2 separate regions of the Homo sapiens genome follow, and region 1 is linked to region 2. The links are contacts of gene promoters, found by promoter capture Hi-C in blood cells and fetal thymus (Javierre and others, 2016). All regions are on one chromosome and are shown on one strand. Each heading gives the region's core, a stretch centred on a gene start or on the middle of the fragment in contact. The rest is flanking DNA. Distances are from core to core; before and after follow the strand shown. Region 1 overlaps GCN1 (GCN1 activator of EIF2AK4). Region 2 holds the start of BICDL1 (BICD family like cargo adaptor 1).

Region 1 (5,988 bases), core at 1,538-4,037, 150 kb before region 2:
GATTATTCTGCCAAGGCAGTCGCAATGTGGGCCCTCCAGAGGGAGTGGGTATAGCAAGATCAGACTTGGCTTTGTGCTTCGCCTTCGGCAGTGAGGAAATGTGGGTGCAACAGGAGGGAGGGAAACAAGTGGAGAAGGAAGTTGGCGGTGGCTGGTTGAGACAGCAGAGATGCAGATTCCTCAGGGTTGTCCCCAACACCCTCTGCAGGATGACGAGGAGGTGTCAGAGTTTGCCTTGGATGGTCTGAAGCAAGTCATGGCTATTAAGAGTCGTGTGGTGCTGCCCTACCTTGTGCCCAAGGTAAATCCCAACATGTGGTCAACACCCTCTGGCTCCAGGGCATTGACATTTCCAGGGCCTGCAGTGAAGACCAGTTCTGAACGTAGATGTTGGAGGGCTGGGGGAGGAGGGTGCAGTGCAAGCATTACATCCTTCCCCTGTTGTCTTCCAAGATATGCTGGAGTAGATGCTTGGCTCTGAGCAGTGGGCTTGGGCTCTCTTGCCCACCCGTCTGTTCCCAGAGCCTAGCGCAGCACCTGGCACAGTATTCACTGAGTTAATGTTTGTCATTCCACCAGCTGACAACGCCACCTGTCAACACCCGGGTGCTGGCTTTCCTTTCGTCAGTGGCTGGTGATGCCCTCACCCGTCATCTTGGCGTGATCCTCCCAGCGGTCATGCTGGCCCTGAAGGAAAAGCTTGGGACCCCAGATGAGCAGCTGGTAAGGGGCGAGCCTGCTCCTGCTTTCTCATGTCCCGTCTGCCCGGAGGATCCCTGCTCAGCACACATGTCCCTTGTGGTTTGCAGGAGATGGCCAATTGTCAGGCTGTGATCCTCTCCGTAGAGGATGACACAGGGCACCGGATCATCATCGAGGATCTGCTGGAGGCCACCCGCAGCCCTGAGGTGGGCATGAGGCAAGCTGCTGCCATCATCCTCAACATCTACTGTTCCCGCTCAAAGGCTGACTACACCAGCCACCTGCGGAGCCTGGTCTCGGGCCTGATCCGCCTCTTCAATGACTCCAGCCCTGTGGTTCTGGAGGAGAGCTGGGATGCCCTAAATGCCATCACTAAGGTGAGGGGACTGCTGACCCCACAGCCAACTTTTGCTTTTAGAAAATTCCAGACATTTACAGGAATAGACTTATAAGAATCCCCCACGTACCTGTCACTCAGCTTCGGCGTTTACCCACTCGTGGCAAGTCTTGTTTATACTCCCGCCCACGCTTTCCCCATATATTCTTTGGAAGCAGTCTTGAGAGGGCTGTACATCCTCTCGCTTTTTCCTGGATTCCTGCAGAAGCTGGATGCTGGCAACCAGTTGGCACTCATTGAAGAGCTGCACAAGGAAATCCGGCTCATAGGGAACGAGAGCAAAGGCGAGCATGTGCCAGGATTCTGCCTCCCGAAGAAGGTAAGCCAGGGCCTCGTGCAGGGGGCTGTGGGCGTGCAGTCTGTTGTGCCCTTCTGGCCCTTACCCCTGTCCCAGGTCTGCGGTAGGGGCTGCTGGAGCAGTAGCCGTGGTGGTTGGTGTTCAGCACCTTCGCAGACAGCATGTTTTCTTCCATGGCAGTCAGATGGGGACAGGGTTCATGCTGCCTTTGGTTTAAGCTCTGCAGGTCACCTTGGCCAGAGTGAGTGGGCCACAGGGTAACAGCAGTGCATGTTCTCTCTGTGTGATAGGCCTGTTGGGGCCCTTGTCGTCTTTTCTCTGCCAAGACCGTTCCATAGCCAGCCCTCTCAGGCTGTGATCCTGAGATTCAGCCCAAATCAATATCTCCCATGGAGTTGAGGGGAGGACAGCTGTCAGGACCACTTTGCTTGCATGGGAGACACCAGGGCCCAGGGTGTTTGAGATTTGACTCTCAGTTGTGGTTCTCTTGTCAGGGAGTGACCTCCATCCTTCCAGTGTTGCGGGAAGGAGTCCTGACTGGCAGCCCTGAGCAGAAGGAGGAGGCAGCCAAAGCCTTAGGCTTGGTAATCCGCCTGACCTCGGCTGACGCCCTGAGGCCCTCCGTGGTCAGCATCACTGGCCCTCTGATCCGCATCCTGGGGGACAGGTTCAGCTGGAATGTGAAGGCGGCTCTGCTCGAGACACTCAGCCTCTTGTTGGCTAAGGTGAGTGGCTGATGAGTTTGTTCAGATCTTAGAGAACAGGTCTGTCTGCAGGAGCCTGATACAAGGTGTCATGTAGCAGCAGGGCAACAGATTTATTGTGGAGAGCCGCATAGCAGAGGGAGGTAAGACCTTGGACTTCAGACATGCTACACCATGGGTCAATTCCAAGTCGTCCTTACTAGCTCTGTGACCAGGATGACCTTGGGAAAGCCATATAACCTAAGCCTGTTTCCTCACCTACAATGTGAGACTAATAATACCAGCTGCCTCATGAAGGGCTGCTAGATATGGGGATTAGATGAGGTTATGTCCAGCATGATGCCTGCTACATACTAAGCACTCAGTACATGTGAAATGCTATTATTTTGAAAAACTACTTTTTCAAAGGAAAAAATTCAGGACCACGTAAATACAAGGAAAACATTGTTTAAAGATATTGCAGTTTTTGTTTTTTTTTGTTTTTTGTTTTGTTTTGTTTTGTTTTTGAGACAGAGTCTAACTCTGTCACCCAGAGCTGGAGTGCAGTGGCGCGATCTCGGCTCACTGCAACCTCCGCCTCCTGGGTTCAAGCAATTCTTCTGCCTCAGCCTCCCAAGTAGCTGGGATTACAGGTGTCTGCCACTACACCTGGCTAATTTTTTTGTATTTTTAGTAGAGACAGGGTTTCACCAGGCTGGTCTCGAACTCCTGACCTCGCACAGCTCAGATTTACCAGCTCCCCCTATCCCCTTTGTGTGCCTGCCACAGCCTGCACACCCACCCAACTCCAGTATTTCCAGACCTTCATTGGCACTGAACCTCCAAACAGTCACTCTGGTTTTCCTAATTAACAATAAGTAAGCCGGGCGTGGTGGCTCAAGCCTGTAATCCCAGCACTTTGGGAGGCCGAGGTGGGCAGATTACCTGAGGTCGGGAGTTCGAGACCAGCCTGACCAACATGGAGAAACCCTGTCTCTACTGAAAATACAAAATTAGCCGGGCATTGTGGCGGGTGCCTGTAATCCCAGCTACTCAGGAGGCTGAGGCAGGAGAATTGCTTAAACCCGGGAGGCGGAGGTTGCAGTGAGCTGAGATCGCGCCTTGCACTCCAGCCTGGGCAACAAGAGCGAAACTCCGTCTCAAAAAAAAAACAAAACAAAAAACAGTAAGTAAATCTTTACTCTTGGACCCACCTGTATTGTATCAAAAGTGTGCCTGTGTTTCTGTATAGTCAGGGGTTGAACTGGATTTTTAGTTAGGTGGGTACACATTTGTGCAGGGAGGATTCTCCAAGGTCATTTGTTTCACAGGCTTGTTCTGAGGGCTGAATGTGGAGTGCGTATCCTGCTGTCAGTTGCTCAGTAGATGGGCTCTGCAATTATACACTGAGTCCCTTTCCCTGTCTTGGCATTAGAACTGTGCTTCAGTACTGCCGATAGTCTGCCCTGCTTGTTAATGTATTCAGAGGAGGATTTGAGTCACTTATCGATATGGACAGGTCTCCACTAAGCCAAACCCCAACGCAGCCAAGGCTGCGAGACAGCTCCCTCAGATAGCGGCCGCCGCCTCCTCGGCCTCCTGCTCCTCCAGTGTATCAAAGCATGCTGGATATGACCAGGAGGCCAAGCGAAACCTGTCTGTGTTTGGCCTCTCTGACGGGCTATCTGTCCCCAGCCCTGTATGAGAGCTGGACTCGCTGTGGTGGTTTGGGATTGTCATTTGTTCTCATGCCTGTGGTACACTGTGGCTTTGGGTCTACCACAACTGTCTTTCATGGATGTGGGTTCCTCCCACAGGTTGGGATTGCCCTGAAGCCCTTCCTGCCCCAGCTGCAGACCACTTTCACCAAAGCCCTGCAGGACTCCAACCGGGGGGTGCGCCTGAAGGCCGCAGATGCTCTGGGGAAGCTCATTTCCATCCACATTAAGGTGGACCCCCTCTTCACAGAGCTGCTCAATGGCATCCGCGCCATGGAGGACCCAGGTGTCAGGTACGGCGCTGGCAAGGGAGCACTGTGGCCTCCAGGAGGCCAGGGGTTGCTGTGGGCCGAGCCTGCGCTGGCAGGAGGGGTGGTGGTGGAGGCACCCAGGGCTTAAGGCGGTGCATTGCTTCTGCAGGGACACCATGCTGCAGGCCCTGAGGTTTGTGATTCAGGGAGCAGGGGCCAAAGTGGATGCCGTCATCCGGAAAAACATCGTCTCACTCCTGCTGAGCATGCTGGGACACGATGAGGTACGGCTGCAGGCAGGACTAGTGGCAGCACTGGACCACTGGTTTCCCTCCTCCTCCTTAGGTTGAGTTCTTCACTTTGTGTTAGAACCAGTACAGCTCAGTAGTAATAAGCATTCCTGACATTTCTATCACCCTGTATGCTTCACCAACATTTCCTCGGGTTTCAAGGGAAACGGGGCAGGTATTGTGGATATATTGGTTATTTCCGTTTGTTTGTTTGTTTTTTGGCTGAGTCTTGCTGTGTCACCCAGGCCGGAGTGAAGTGGCACAATCTCGGCTCACTGCAGCCTCCGCCTCCTATCAAGCGATTCTCCTGCCTCGGTCTCCCGAGTAGCTGGGATTACAGGTGTCCGCCACCATACCCAGCTAATACTTGTACTTTTAGTAGAGATAGGGTTTCACCATGTTGGTCAGTCTGGTCTCAAACTCCTGACCTCAGGTGATCCACCCGCCTCGGGCTCCGAAAGTGCTGGGATTAACAGGCATGAGCCACCGCGCCCGGCCGGTTATTTCTATTTTATAGATGAGGCAAGTAAGCTTTGTAGAGACCCAGACCTCTCACCTATTTGCTCTCTGATCTTAAAGAAGTCACTTTCTCTGTCTGCCTCTCATTTCCACTTTTGTAAAATGAAGAGGTTTATTTATTGTTTTGTGAAACATTTGCCGAGCTAAAGGGCCTATCCCAGAGGTGCATAGACCTCGTGGTCACAGACCTCAAGAAACTTAGTGTGTAGTGGGATAAATGGTCTCCAGGGTGTGTCCCGGTGGCAAGTCTTAGAGGTCTATTTTCGAGGGTGAGACTTGTCTGGGCCATACCCAGCAAGTAGTAGAGTCCAAACCAGAAGCCCTGGACTCCTGGTTCTGTCCCAGTTCCATCAGCCTCACCTAGTCTGGAAGCATCTGTCAAATATTTGGCTGCGAGCACTGTGGGGCCAGTAGGGAGTTGAGTCTATGGAGAAGAGTTTTCTGTTCCCTTTTCAGACAGCCCTCTGTTGTGGTCTAATTTACTTTGTAGGGCCAATCTAGGAGGAGAGGGCCTTTGGGCTCACATGGTTTTACACGTCATTGACACACACACACACCCACACACACTCCTCCTGCCCACACCTGCAACACACACACTTGCTGCTGCACTTCCCATGGCTCCAAAGGCCTAGTTCTGGTCCCCAGGCGCCAGCTGTCGGACTCCAGCCCCAGCCTTCTCTGTGGGGACAGACAGGAAAGTCTGCTGTCTTGGTCACAGTCTTTCAGGGCTTCTACAGAGTCATGTGTACAGTGCAAGCAAAAGTTAGTATTGAAACATATTTGCATTTTACCACAGTGCAGCTTAAAATAGATGAAGTTGGAGAGAGTCGGTGTCAGAGCCAGCTTTAGCTTGGCACCTGGGCTTCTGCTTCGAGCTCAGAGGCCCAAACTGCTGGCAGTCCATTCTCTTACCCTCTGAACCTCCACTCAGATTGAAGGTGGCAGTTCAGGGTGCCAGCCTGGCATTAGCTTTTTGGGTTATTGAGTCCCTGGTTGGTGGTTTGTTTTGGGGACATGTTGAGTTGGCACCTGTAATAAGGAACATAACTTAAAATCCTCTCTTGGTATTCCATAGTTAGCTGGCCAGGGAGGAGCACGGAGCCGCTCGCGTACCTGGCTCTGATTTGAAC
Region 2 (5,644 bases), core at 1,688-4,187:
TTTTATAATTTTCAAACCTACCTATAAGAAATAATATAACTGACTCCCCTCATCACTGAGTTTCAACAATGATCAATATTTGGCCTGTAAGTATATGTTAAGTATATGTTAGTTATATTCACATTGTTGTGCGACTATCTCCAGAACTTAAAATTGAACTTTTAAAACTAGAGTTCATATGCTGACCTGCAGAGGAATGAAGGTTTTAAAAAATAGTTTAAAGAGTTTTAAACTATTGTTGTCCATTAAGTAAATAACAAAATGTCAAAGATAATTTATTCTTTTACAATACAACCTTTTTTTGTTACCATTCTGAAATCTTTGCCCTATGTTGAAGAAATGTATAAAGGCTCCACATGGAACCCAGAATGTATGTAATTGCACACTCAGGATTACTATGAAATCTGGCACTAATCAAACTGATACGGTGCTCCTTTCAAGTCAGCTGTCTCTTCAATCAAGTCCTTCACTGAAGAAATTTCAAATCACAAGTATAAATCTCTGTAGTTGTACTTCTTTACAAAGTCGTACAACTGAATCTCTTTATAAAAAAAAAAGGAAGGCTTTTTATTTCTAGACCTCTACTTCAAGTGAAAATTAAACAATTCAATTCATTAGGCTGCTTTTTGGCAGTCTACCTATAGGTTTCACAAACGACTTTTCAGAGAGGTATCTCAGGAGTTCATCGACTGGCAGACCTAGTTAGCAGGACAACCGAACTACAGGGCACTCACAGGTTTCCTTTTTTTCTCCCGGATTTACTTTTACGTCGCTGGACTATAGGCATACTTAAATCTTATTACAGAATATTTCTGAATTTCCATTCTGACTGTTCAACCAGTAGCAGAGATACGGAACCTGACTAGGGTCAATTTCAAACCTCATTCAGGTCTGTACTATTGTCTTGCTGTAACTAAGAATGAAAAGAGCTGGCTGCAACCAAACTAGGTAACAATAATAGTAAACGCACAGGCAGGAAAGGTAAGTCACAGGTGACTCCCTCTCCCCATCCCCCTGCCCCTTTTTTTTGCAATCTAATTTTTAGAAATGCTGGCATTCTGTACTGCATTCAAGGCCCTTTTCTAGTTAAGGGCAAGAAAACAAACAACTCTGAAAGACTGCCTAGAGAACTGGCAGAAATATTACGGATACCTTAACAGGTATTTTATAACAGAAGTTAAAGTAATATGGTTCTCATAGGTTGCATTTGGTCATTCAATTGCAAGCCTGAGACCCAGAACACAGAAAAGTACTGTTTAAATACACATAAATACTGAGGCCCAAATTAAATCCACTACCAGCGGTCACATGTTGAGCCCTGGCTCGCCTGATTTCTGCAATGGAACCACATTTCCTAATCCCTGAGCATTTGAAGGCTATATAAAGCTCCTTTAGGGGCACTTGTTTCCCACAACTCTGAGCTGCCAGGAAGTTAAGACAAGGGCATCTAAAGGCCTTAACGCCCAAACTGGAAGGCTTTAGGCTAACACCCTGATTAGAGATTAACTGCTCTGAAAACCTGCAACATATTTTAAATGCTTCCCGACTTCCTCATTTCTCTGTATGCAGACATCACCTCAGTGCTATATAGTCATACTGTAAGCTCTATTTTAGATGCTGGGTACAGTACGTATATAGAACGGCCCACAGCGGCTGGAGCCACGCATGGACCCATTTGCTGTGAGCGGGGTGGGGAAGTCAAGTGGGTTCAACGAAATCTGATAATCCTCCATCCTCCCTCCCCCATTCATTCCAGATTTTCTGCGAGGTAGGGTGAGCAACGAAGTGGGGGTGAGTGGTTCCCTAACTGCCCAGGGCCGGGCGCGTGCCTGGGCGGCCCCTGCTCCCCACCCATCCCTGGAGGGAGGTCCTCACCTCGAGCTTGTCTGTCAGCTCCTTATGCATCTGCTCGTACTGCCGGCTCATGTCCTGGTTCCTCTCGAGCAGCGCCTTACCCAGCCGGGCCGCCAACACCAGATCCTTCTCCTTCTGTCGGATCACCGACAGCAGCTCGGGGTCCTGGGAGGGCGGCGGCTGCGGTCCGGCCCCCTCGGCCAGAGACCCAGGCTCGGCCTGAGGGTGTTCCCCGGGGTCGGACGGCCGCTCCCCGGCCGCCAGCAGCGCCAGCTCCTCCTCTAACGCCAGTTCTAGCTCCCCGGAGCCCCCGGGGAAGATGAGGGCGGCGGCGGCGGCGGGACTCCGGACTGCGTCCCCGGCCGCGGCGGGCAGCTCCATGCAGCAGGCGCTGTCCGGCTCGGCGGGTGCTGAAGCGCGGCCGACCAAGCCCAGGCAGAAAGCGGACATGGCCCGCGCGCGCGGAGCCCGCAGCGGTGCGGCCCGGCCCGCGCGCGCCAGGCTGCAGGGGGGAGGGGCCCTGCCGCGCCGCCCCGCGTCCCGCGCCTCGCCTCGCGCCGCGGCACGCGCCCCCGGGTCCCCGCGAGCCCTGGGCGCGGCGCGCGCCGGCCCGCCCCTCCCCCGCGCCGGCGGCACGCGCCCCCTCCCCCGCCCCCGGGCTCAGCTGCTCAGGCGCGCGCGGGAGGAGGGGGTGGGGGTAGTGGCGGAGTAGGTGGTGGGAACGGGAAGGCTGGGGAAGGGAGGACTCAGGAACAGAGACTGAGGGTCGGCGAAGCGGGAGGGGAGGAAGCGAGGAGGAACGCCGCCGCCGGGTTCTCAGCCGCCCTGTTGCCGCTGCCGCTGCTGCTGCTGCTGCCGCCGCCGGCCGGGCAGCGCCTCACGGGGCGGGCTGCGCTCCGCTGTCGCCGCGACGCTTCCTGCTGCTGCTGCTGTTGCCGGCGGCCGCTCTCTGCAGCCGCACTCCATGACCCCCGGCTCCGCGGCAGCCCCAGCAGCAGCGGCGGCGACGGCGGCTGCTGCTGCTGCAGGGGCCGAGGCGGCGGCTCCACATCGCGCGCCGCGCAACCCGGCGAGCTCCTTCCTGCCTTCCCCGGCTCCTCCCGGCTCACCGGGCCGGCAGCGCCCCGCCCCGGGCTTCCGGCCGCGTCCCCTCGCCCCGCCCCTTGCCGGCGCCTGACGCGCGCGGGCACCTGTTCGCCCCGCCCGCGCGGGATTCGCCGGCTCGCGGGTCTCCTCAGCGACGCCCAGGTGGCGCCGGCGGCCTTAACCCCTGCTCTGCCTCACGCCCTGCGGGCGGCTGCGCGCGCCGCCTGCGGAGGCGGCTGGCGCATCCCTCACGGTCCTGGCTGCCTCACCGCGCGGCCACGCCCCCAGCCTTGCACCCACTTCGGGGTGCGGTTCCGCCCTCAGCCTCGCTCAGAGCTGGGGTGTGGCCACGCCCTCAGCTCTCGTACCTCGGGGTGTGGCCTCGCACCCGGCCTCGCTCTCACCTCGGACGGAGCGCGGCCCCGCCCACCGCCTGCTGCTCACCTCCAGGCGCGGCCCCGCCCCCAGCTACTTGGAAGCCGGGGCGCGCCTCAGAGTTCTGTTGCCGCATCTCTGGTGGTGTCTGGGGCAAAGGGGACTGAGGACATTCCTCCAAGACTGGTGACCCGGCCCCGAGAAAGACATACCCTCACGAAATTTAGGTCTGGGCCCCCAGGAGAACTAAGCAGTCAGGAGAGGGAGCCCTAGAGAGCAGTAGGAGGAGGGAGGACTTCGGAAACCAGGCATCTTCATGCTGATGACTCAGGGATATGAAGGACCAGATGCTTCGCAGATCAGCAGCCCGGAGAGAAAGGGTTTCTGCGGAGAAATAACGGAAAAAACTGCTCACAGATGGGAATACGAAGCAAAGAACCTCCCTAATAATAACTACCGTTTATTCGGCACTCAGTGTGTGCCATGTCCTGTATTAAGTGCTTGATAGTCATTATTTTAGATAATCCTCACAAGAACTTTATAAAATCAGTACTGCCGCTTGTCATTTTAACAGAGAAGGAAATTAAAGCCTGAGAGATGGCATCGTCTGCCCAGGTCATTACAACTGGTAGAGTCAGGATTGAGATCTAGCCAGGCCGACGCCAGGGATCACGTGAATCATTATTCTTTATTTTCTTCACATAGAAGCAGTCTTGAGGAAGATAAATGGTCCTTTGTGACCAAGATGGATTGGGTGGATATGGAAGGAACATTTCCTCAATGATTAAAGGAAGGTTTGGAGAGCCTACTGGGTGACTTGCAGTCATTCCTTGGTGTTGACCTCGTTGGTGGTGCTACGTGTCTCCTATTTCCAGAAACAATCCCATCTAAAGCTAGAATTCGTCCCTATGCTTCCTTTTCCTCTTGGACAGACAACCCATTTTTTACTTGGATCATGCCTTTCTTCTTTTCATCCCAGTGAGATGGAAATTTCAGAACATCAAGAGGCTGAAATGGGTCAAATAGTTTCTCATGGTTTTTATCGCTTATTAAATTCAGAGCCTAAACAATATTCAAGTTTTAACATCGTTACCCTTAGACTGAAGGCCAGAATCTGAAAAGCTCCTGGGCCTCAGGGCTGGCATTGTTCACTTGTTGACTGGAAAGGAGACAGACAGTTGAGGGATTCCCACATCAATCTTAGAGCTAAATTTCTGCAGTTGACCATGTTACCATTCCAGCAAGGAAATGTTCTAACACTTTTTATTATGACCTCCCACCTTGAGCTGGAATTGTGGGCCAGAGGTGAGATCCAATTGCCACTTCCTTTTGTCTTATTTGAATCACAGAAGGACAAATTTCTCCCTAATATGTCTGGAGACACATCAAGAACAAACAGGGCCAGGCTCTGTGGCTCCTGCCTATAATCTCAGCACTTCGGGAGGCTGAGGCAGGAGGATTGCTTGAGCCCAGGAGTTCAAGACCAGCTTGGACAATGTAGAAAGTAAAGTTTCCTCTTCAAAGCTTCCCTTCTTGTTAAAGAATGAATAATAAGTGTTAGAAATAATGGTTTCTTTTAAAGACTAACTTCCTTCAAGCCACCTTATTTTATGCTAATAACTCTCTGTTAAGCCCTTTCCTATGTAGCTGTTAGATCTAAGGGAATGAGTACATTCTATGTCCATGTACTTTAACCAAGATACCTGTGCTGGACATGCTCACTGGCATGTCCCAGCTTGCAGCCTATGCCCCTTCCCTATTTGGGAATGTTACTACTTTTCTAAGTCTTTTCATAAATAACTTCCTCTTTTCCTTTGTTCTCCATTGCTTTTACCTATTTAGAAAAGTTTTAAGTTGTTAGCCTATCAGGTTCAGTTTAAATTGTAAGGTCTGGCTCCAGCCAATGGAGACAAGGCACAGTAGCAGGGACAAACTGCGTAAGGGATAAAAATTGCTTCTTTCCTTTATTCAGGTGTGCTCTTGCCATTGTTCCAGCTGCAAGGAGCACCCTTTCTGCAGAAACTAAAATTGCATTGCTGAGAAAACTTTCTCTCTAAATGCTGATTTTTCCTCGTGGTACCGAGGAACAAGCATTCTGTTTCTAAATAAACATTTTACTTATAACAGGCAACATGGCAAGATCCTGTCTCTCCACCAGTTGGGTGGCTCATGCCTATGACCCCAGCATTTTGGGAGGCCAAAGTGGGAGGGTCTTATAAGCCCAGGAGTTTGAGACTAGCCTGGACAACATGGCCAAAACCCCGTCTCTACAAAAAATACAAAAAAATTAGCCAGGCATGGTGGTGTGTGCCTATAGCCCCAGCTACTC

What was found. The method cuts DNA at HindIII sites, captures the fragments that hold promoters and counts their contacts. A CHiCAGO score of 5 or more calls a contact.
Region 1: a contact is called between a fragment that was not itself captured here and the fragment with the promoter of BICDL1 in region 2, in 1 of 17 cell types (activated CD4 T cells). The highest score is 5.7, in activated CD4 T cells.

What each region holds. Positions count from the first base shown.
Region 1 is chr12:120,132,636-120,138,623 of GRCh38, reverse strand. It overlaps GCN1 (GCN1 activator of EIF2AK4), which reads left to right. Exons shown (of 58, transcript NM_006836.2): 47 at 209-301; 48 at 580-723; 49 at 810-1,079; 50 at 1,305-1,418; 51 at 1,892-2,122; 52 at 3,898-4,091; 53 at 4,219-4,333. Among named protein-coding and RNA genes, the nearest start is that of RAB35-AS1, 19 kb to the right of the region's middle. RefSeq lists enhancers at 5,317-5,516, 5,727-5,776. The HindIII fragment of the contact is 4,171 bases long and covers 702-4,872 here.
Region 2 is chr12:119,986,529-119,992,172 of GRCh38, reverse strand. It overlaps BICDL1 (BICD family like cargo adaptor 1), which reads right to left and starts at 2,937. Exons shown (of 10, transcript NM_001367886.1): 1 at 1,876-2,937. The coding sequence starts at 2,304. RefSeq lists silencers at 1,960-2,169, 2,180-2,249, 2,300-2,389, 2,670-3,309, 3,330-3,389 and 1 more and enhancers at 1,321-2,292, 2,293-3,266. The HindIII fragment of the contact is 12,107 bases long and covers 1-4,841 here.